Regions from separate parts of the Homo sapiens genome. Here region 2 is linked to region 1. Evidence: promoter capture Hi-C in human tissues and cell types (Jung and others, 2019). All regions are on one chromosome and are shown on one strand. The core of a region is centred on a gene start or on the middle of the fragment in contact, and the rest is flanking DNA. Distances in the headings are between cores, read along the strand shown.

Region 1 (4,396 bases), core at 1,644-4,143:
CTATAAAATGGCCGTCCTCACTGCTAAAGCATGACCTAATGATTGAATGGCCCAAGCTGTGACCAGGAGCTGAGAAGGGACAGTGGCAACAGATCTTTCTCACCATTATGGGTGGAGACTGACATGTGAAAAGAGGGAGTGGATGTTGCTCTTTTATTTTTTGAGTCTGTTAATATGACTTGTCCATTGAAGAACTATTGTAGATAATAATAGCTAACATTCAATGAGTGTTTCTATGTGTTAGGCCCTGTTAAGAATTTTTCATGAATTAACTCATTTAATCTTCACTTAACCGTATCTGGCAGACATGGTTTCAATCTCATGAGTTAAGAGTAATGCAGCCAGTAAATGGTAATGGTGGGATTTATACACAACAACCAGGTCCAAAGATGGAGCCCACATACATGACAACACCACATATTCCACTTTATTGCATCCATTGCTGACCACCAGCAGAGCTGAGGGAGAAGGCGGGTTCCTCTAAGACACTTGACAATACTTCTAAGATGTCTTTATGAATAGAAGAGAAAATTGAAGTTTGGCAATTGCACTGTTAAGCAGTTTATTAATAACCAGTGAACCAAAGAATGCTATTCTCCCAGCTTAGCAGAGGGAGCTCCTTAGTGGGATGTCATGTGGCATCTTAATATTTTAATGTAATCCATGGATATGGGGAGACACTGGATGCCTGAATTAAATCCTAAGGGACTTAGAGAAAGTGGATCAGGAACTTTGGTTCCAAAGATCAACTCCATGTTCCCGCACATGGCCTAACCGTAACACTGTAAAGAATTTCCAGTCTTCCCCTTGCACTCCTATCAACACTGAGATGTATTTGAGAAAAAAAAAAAAAGAGAGAGAGAGAGAAGATCTCAGGCTGTATTGTGTTTGCTAATGGTTAATTACGTAATTAATCTATAAGACTACTTTTTTTTCTTTTTTTCTTTTTTCTTTTTTTTTTTTAAAGGGCAGAGACAGATATTCTTCTGGGAGAAGATGGCTCAAATGAGAGAGACTTGAAGCCATGTCACATGAAGAAGAGTCAGAATAATTGAGGATGGTTAATCCTCAAAAGAGAGTGTTTAGGTAAAATTTGAGGGCTGACTTCAAAGATCTGAAAGACTACTTCATGGAGGAAAGATGTGAAGACCCGGGACCAAAGGTTACAGGGGAGTGGATTTGCATAATTGCTGTGCAAGGAGGGAACAATTATGACAGCTAATGTTTACTGAGTGCTCACCACGCATGCACTAAAGTTAAGGTCTTTATATGCCTTAGCTACAAGGTTGTAGATCAAATTCATACTTATCACTACAAGTGTCTCAGAGCATCGTTAGTAAAGGCTCCATTTACTGACTACTTATTAAATTACTTCATTTAATAGTTGGTGCTATTGACTTTTGTTATTATATCATTACTGTTTTATAGATGAGGAAATACAGAAGTTAAGTTGCTTTCCTGCAGTCACCCTGCTTTAGTTACTGGCTTATAACCATCTGGACCCAGGCACTCTTGATACTAATACTGCCTCCCAGAGTCATGCGTATAATAAGGAGTTAGATCAGAGCTGTTCATTAAAAGTATAAGGTGAGCCACTAATGAGAGCCTATGTGTAGCCTTACATTTTCTAGTAGCTACATCAGAAAATGTAAAAAGAAACTGGTGAAATTAATCTTATATATGCTTATATCTTAACCCAACACATGACGAATCCAACTGACTTACTACATCAGACTATTCTCATGTATTGCAATAATGTAATCAACATAAACATACTTAACAAGTTAGTTTACATTCATTTTAAAAATACTGAATTGTATGTCTGTTTTACACTTACAGAACATCTCAGGGATAGCCACATTTCAAGTGCTCAACAGCTGCCTGTGGCTCTTGAGGGGGAAGATCTTAAAAGGGAGCTTAGTTTTCCACCTTGATTCTGATGCCTCCCTGCCCCCGACTTATTTCCTTTGCCAATTAGAAGAAAATGCCGAACTGCCTTTGACTTTTCCGGTAGAGCCAATGTAGGTATTTCTGAACTGGGGGAGGACAGGTGGTTCGCCTGCAACCCTCTTCCCTCCTGCCAGCTAGGCTGGGAGTTAACGTTTTTGATTTCTGCTTTGAAAATGATTTAAGTAGGTTGCATGAATTAAGTAATTTATTCTAAATATCAAATTATGGGTGGAACGTCTTGCCTTATGCAAAGTTATGCAAAATTAGGAAGTCCCTGGCTTAATTGGTTAGAAATACATCTTGTAGTTTCAATTGCAGGGTTAGTAAATACATAGATGTCGACGGAGAGGGAGGAAACTTTTTTTTTTTTTTTTTGCCACTCTGTCCAAGGGTAGAGGCACAGCGTCAAAACAAACACGTCTTAAAGTAGCGTTCAAACAGCCCACCGAAGTTTCCCCTTAATATCCGGAACCGGTTGCCAAAAATTAAAAAAGGATGTGAAAAGATGCTACTCGCTTTTGGCCTCCCGGAGATGGCGCTATGAGGGTGACGGAGTTAATTAGTGCCTCCAAACGCCGTGTGTGAGCTCATCGAAGTCATGCTCTGCACACATATTATTTATAGCAGATCTGAGGCATGCATGGTGTTTGACATTTCTGTCTTTTAAGTAGGGGGACTTCAAAAAGTCGTGGGCATCCCCCTAGGCAAAGTGCAGTGGGCAGGGACCAGGCAGGGTGCGGGCGCAAGGCGAACGCGCAGACCACGAGTGTCCTGGCGCAGGTGCCGGGGGCGGCGGCTGCAACTCCGCAGCGTCCGCTCGGGAGGAGAGTTCGCGGCTGATCTCCGGATGCCTTGCAGATGCAAAATGTGTCTCTGGCCAGCAGGAGGAAGGAAGAGGAAGTGAGAGCAGCGGCAGCCGGCGGTGCAGCAGCCGGCCGACCCAGAGTGTAAGTGCGTGTGCTGGGGCGAGCGGGAGCGGGCGAGGATGGGCACAGGATAGAGGCAGAGCCACCCACGCCGCCGCGGCCCCACGCTGGGCGACAGAGCCTCCAGTTCCCCTTCAATGGTGGCGGGTCGCCGGAGCTCTGATCGCCGGGAACCCTTGCCGCTGCTGTCCTGCGACCCCAAGCAGGTTCGTAAAGTTTCCTGGGCTGGCGCCGCGCCCCGACTCGCTGACCTCGGCGCGGCAGGGGAGGGGGCCGGGACTGGGGCCGGGAGGAGGCGTCCTGCTCCGGGGGACTCCGGGCGCCGCGGAGACACTTTTGTTTCCTCCCTGGGGGCGCCGCGGCTCGGGCGGGGGTGGCCGCCGCGCTCGGCAGGGTGAGGGCTGCGGGCGCGTCGGGGCGCTCTGCAGTTGGGGAAGTCTGAGCTCCGGGGATGGCGGGAGTGGGAGTGGGAGCGGAGGGAGGGGGCGCTGGAGGTGCGGCGCCCGCGGATGAAGCGCAGGGCCCGGGGCCCGGGAGCCCGCCGAGACATTTCGACCAGGGTCTGCGGGAGGGGGGGCGCGGGAGGGTTGCGACGCTGGCGCGGGGTTACTGGGGACGGGGGATGTGGGGCTGGGATCTTGGAGTCAAGATTCCTATAGAGCTAGAGAAGCGGCTGCGGCTCAGACTCGGCGTCTTCTCCTGCACTCGGGGATGGGAGGGAATCCCCCGGCGAGCGCGCTCGTGGGAGGGGGCGGTGATGGGCCAGAGGAATGGGGGCCAGGAGGGCCGGAGAGGGCGGTCTGGGCAGCCGGGAGCCCCTGAGGTTCTGGTTAGTAAATACTCTCCTCCCGGGGACACACCGGGGTCTCCGCCGAGACCGAGAGAGGCGGCGGGGAGCTTTGTGGAGCTTCGTGGAAATCTCGGCTTCGGAGAGGGGACGCACCGGGCGCGCCTTCAGAGAAGGGGGCGGCGGCATGCCAGGGGGCCCGGGAATCGGAGCGGAGAGTGGCGACTGCGATCGCCGGAGTCGCTTTGAGGAAGAGGAAATACAGAACTCAGCTGTCCCGGGGGTGCGCGCGTGTGTTTGGGGTTGGGAAGTCGGTGCTGTGCCGCGAGCGCGCGCGAGGCGGCGTGTGTGTGTGTGTGTGTGTGTGTGTGTGTGTGTGGTGTGTGCGCGCGCGCGTATGTATGTGTGTGTGGTGTGTCGTCGGTGTGTGTGTGAGTGTGTGTGTGTGGGGGGGGTGTTGTGGGTGTGTGTGTGAGTCGGTGTGTGTGTGTGTGACCGCACAGCCAGGAACTCCCCGCCCAGTGACCCTCTCCCGCCTAGGGGGCCATTTGAAGTTGGAGGCGGGTCGGGACCTGCCTTGACCTAAAGGACCAGCCTCAGGCTTGGTCCCAGGTAGTGACCCAGCTCTGAGAGTCCCTGGACGGCTCCCGAGACTCAGTGAATATATTTGGGATGCCCCCCGCGCTGGATCATGGGCTTCCCAACACCGCTGGCCTTGAATGATTCGGGCCTA
Region 2 (4,167 bases), core at 1,027-3,526, 820 kb after region 1:
GCCGGGCACATTGCCTCATGCCTGTAATCTCACCATTTTGGGAGACCAGAGTGGAACAACCACTTAAGGTCAGGAGCTAAAGACCAGCCTGGGCAACAGAGCAAGACCCCGTCTCTATAAAAACAAACACAAAAACAAACAAACAAGAAGCCTTGGAGCCAGATATGATTTGAAATTCAGGTTTTTTATATTCTAGTAAAATAATCAATAATGCATATACCATAACCCACCTGCTATCCCTGGCACCTCTTGATCAATCACATTTATATTTCAGAGTGAAATATATGAATTTTCACACTAAGTATGATAAAGCTTACGAATTGCCCTATATCAGTTCAGGTCAAGTTTTGCTACCAAATGAAGTTGTTGCTAAGTTGAAAAAAATTTTGATTAGTGGGCTGTGAAGAAGGGATTGTGGAGATTACACAAGTTGCAATTTATGCTACTCTGAGTACCCAGTCTACCCACTCATGTCTAGAATGCATGGCTTTGGCCAGTCACTTGGGGCCTTTAAAGTAAGCAGACAAAGGTTAATAAATCAGCTTTCCAATCTTAAAGACCACTCTTTGTTCCTTCTTTCAAGGACAAACTCTCACCCCCAAGATAACAAAGGTGGGAGGGGATAGCTTTGGCACATGCCCAAACGGGACCTTTCCTGCAGCTCCTTTTTCTTTCTCAGGCTGAAAATATGGCTGTTTGGGTCTACGTCATTTCTGTCTCTTTCTCTCTCTCTCTCTCTGTTGATCTGTCTGTCTTTGTCTCTTGCTCTTGCTCTCTTTCTTTATCTTCCTTTTCTCAACTAGAAAAATACACGCTGTCCAAGAGGCCAAATACATACATGGGGAAAACTGCCTAGTCTCACAGAAAATGTGACCTTCAAAGCCTTTTCCAAAACTTTTCTTAAGAGTCACAGCTGATGTTGGATGACTGCAAGTCATTTGGTCCAAGCTTTTTCCGCATTTCTTGACAGATGATTAAAGTGAGAGAAAACCATTTGTAGTTCAGAGTAGACAAGGGATGGGGTGGATCTAGAAACCCTGGAGCATCAGAGCAGGAAGGATCCCAAGGATGATCTTGCCCTAGCTTCTCTCCTGCATAAGGGAGAGCAGCGTCACAGCCTCTGAGCCCACTCGGGAAGCTTCATTCCCCTCCGCTCCCACCATGGGAAAATCAAGGTGTGGGTGATCATGGGGGTGGAATTTGGCTACAGCCCACACCTGAACTGTTCCTGGACAATCTTCCACCTTCCCCAAGGCTGGTTCTCACTTTTCCTGTAAGTGTGGATGTGTGGAGTCAGCAAGTAGAACGTTTCTAATTTCCTGCTGGTGGCTCTCTCTCTGGCCTTGTTCAACCCACCCCACCCCAAATGGAAGGGGGAGGTGAATTTCCTCTTTCGGACAGCAGGCACTCATAATCACAGCTGCAAGCACTTTGTGAGGACCAATACTGGGGGCTTTTCATGTGGTTTCCCTTAATCCTCCCAATAAACCCTGTGAGGGAGCTGGCAGGAATCACATTTTACAGATTTAAAAATGAGGCTCAGGGAGGTTAAATAAACTTCTGAGAATTGCCGAGCTGGTGAGGAAGCGGTGGATGGAGCAGTGACTCCAACTGACTCCAGAGTCTTTACTGAACCACCATGCTCAACTCAGTATCTGGCAAGAGCACTTGAATTCAAAAGGATAATTCTTCTTGGAGACACTAAGAGGGAGCCTGCTGCCTTGTCCTTTCAGGGATCCAGCCTCCCCTGTCCCCCAGGGCAGGAATGTAGGAAGGACTAGTGATGAGACATCAGCTTGCAGCTCCCTCTTCATTAGGTCCACTAAGTGGCTATTGACTCCCCACACTCCCTACTTTTCCCTACCCTAACCAGCACTCACTCATCCCAGGGTCCTCCTCTCAGTGGTCCAGTCAGGAAACAGAGCTGTGCAAGGAGGATTTAATATAAGGTACCAGTTTAAAAAGTGCTAAAAAGGCTGAAACAGTAAAAAGAGGAAGGCAAGGCCCCCCGGTTATGAGGACTGCAGGAGGCAACCAGCATCCCTAGGGGGACAGAAGAAGCAAAAGGGAGGAGTTGGTGTTCTCAGGCTTGGGAGGCCACTTGCTGCGGGGTTGCTGGGGGCAAAACAAGAGGCCATGTTGGCCAGTCCTGGAGCCATGGATAAGGGGTCACCCACGGGTGCTGGGACCCTCAGGAGGGCCCACTGTGGCTAGAGGTAGAGTCACTGAAGGGAACATCCAGAGAGAGAAAGACAGAGCGGGAAACCAACTTCTCCGCTCCTCCTCCTGCTCTCTCTTGCCACCAGTGCCAGCTCCAGTTCCCAAGGGAACCTGGTAAGTATATTTTGCAAAATTCCCAGCCCCAAAAGTATAGAGTAGAATACAGGCTGTAGAGCCATAGAAGCTAATATAACCAGCACAGTGCCCTCCAGTGTTTGACCAAAGAGGCCTGTAAGCTGAACTTCTGTCCCATCCCAGAGTTCATAAGACAGGCTCCAGGCTGCCATTTAGGCTCTGCATGGTCTTGGGTTGCATTTATTTGCCTTGAGGTTCTCAGAACTGTTGAGATGCTCTTTATTCAAAAGACCATTTAGTGATTCCTATAAAAGGTTGTGTTACTCACTGTAAATTCTCGGCTCCAAAGAAAGCCTCATCTTGCCATTAATGGTGGAGGGTGTCCAGGTTCTTGGCATCTTGAACAAAGAATTGGATGAAATGCACAAAGCAAGGAAGGAATGAAGGGATTTATAGAAAATGAAAGTGCACTCTACAGTGTAGAAGCAGGCCTGAGAATAGGGGCTCAAAGGCCCTATTACAGAGTTTTTGTGAGTTTAAATATCCTCTACTTGGGGTATGCCCTATGTAAATGAAGAGGATGAAGATGAAGTAAAGTTACAAAGTCATTTACAGCGTATGCCCTATGGAGAGGATATTTCCTGTTATAGCTGAAGTGTGAATCGGCCTTATGTTTCCTGCCTCCAGACCCTATTTTCCTGCCTCATTGCCATATGACTGCATTATTCTGCTACTGTGTAAGTGATTTTCTAAACCCAAGGCAGTCTTTGACATTGAGAAGCTGGGAAAAGTCTGGTGGTGAGGATTCCACAGGGGAAATCCTCCCTCATGGGATGTCCATGGCTTTGGCATCAATTTATTTCGTCATCACATCAGGGTCCTTGGCTTCCAAGACTCATGAATGGGAGTGAAAGTTGCCAGCTAATATCAGCTAAATGGTCAAGATTCTCAGGATAAGTGATTGAAAAGAGTAAAATTTTAAGAAAAGATTTCTATAACAATGTGCAAAATGGCAAAAATTCAATTTGTAGTGCTGAGTTCATTGACTGAACTCAAAGTGCAGTCTCATATTTCCTGGGAATCTCAACATCAATACCCCTTGCCCTTTAAAATTTCACTTCAATTATTTCACTTCCTCATACAGGCCAAGTTAATATCAGACAGAAAACAGTTCTGTTGGGTAAAGAGCAGAGATTGGCAAAGTTTTGCTGGCTCTGTCTGACACCACACAGGATCTTAATTTTCTGTTTAGAATGGCCCTCTGTGGCATAAACTCAACAGAGCTGTATCAGAAAATGTCTCTCTATTTGTTTTCACCAACACTGTTACTTTTTTTGTTAGCTCACCGATTGTTTTGTTTTCTTTTTCCTAGAGCTATGGAACAGTCTGTGCCATTCAAAGATGTGGATTCAGACAAATACAGCGTTTTCCCAGTAAGTATTGTTAGGAATAACCAGATGTTCACTAACATCACATTGCTTCCTACACATTTCTTTCCTTTAATAAGACAAGACTGAATTTCATTTGAATGCATTATTAATTTGATGAACAACACATCATTTCACAATTTCTTTTCTTTTTTGAGACCAAGTCTCACTCTGTTCCCCCAGACTGGAGTGCAGTGGCATGGTCTCCACTCACTGCAACCTCTGCCTCCTGGTTTCAAGTACTTCTCGTGCCTCCCAAGTAGCTGGGATTACAGGCATGCACCACCACACCTTGGTAGTGTTTGTATTTTTAGTAAAGTCAGAATTTCACCATGTTGGCCAGGCTGGTCTCAAACTCCTGACTTCAAGTGATCTGTCCACCTCGGCCTCCCAAAGTGCTGGGATTACAGGCATGAGCCACCACAGCCAGCCCATTTCATATTTT

Evidence for each region. The method cuts DNA at HindIII sites, captures the fragments that hold promoters and counts their contacts. A contact is called where the count stands out against the background at its distance.
Region 2: a contact is called between a fragment that was not itself captured here and the fragment with the promoter of ELMO1 in region 1, in 1 of the 25 tissues and cell types used here (lymphoblastoid cells).

What each region holds. Positions count from the first base shown.
Region 1 is chr7:37,447,361-37,451,756 of GRCh38, reverse strand. It overlaps ELMO1 (engulfment and cell motility 1), which reads left to right and starts at 2,893. Exons shown (of 22, transcript NM_014800.11): 1 at 2,893-3,082. RefSeq lists silencers at 3,144-3,193, 3,204-3,253. The HindIII fragment of the contact is 6,371 bases long and covers 1-4,396 here.
Region 2 is chr7:36,622,751-36,626,917 of GRCh38, reverse strand. AOAH (acyloxyacyl hydrolase) reads left to right here. Exons shown (of 21, transcript NM_001637.4): 7 at 3,668-3,728. Among named protein-coding and RNA genes, the nearest start is that of AOAH-IT1, 25 kb to the right of the region's middle. The HindIII fragment of the contact is 3,291 bases long and covers 631-3,921 here.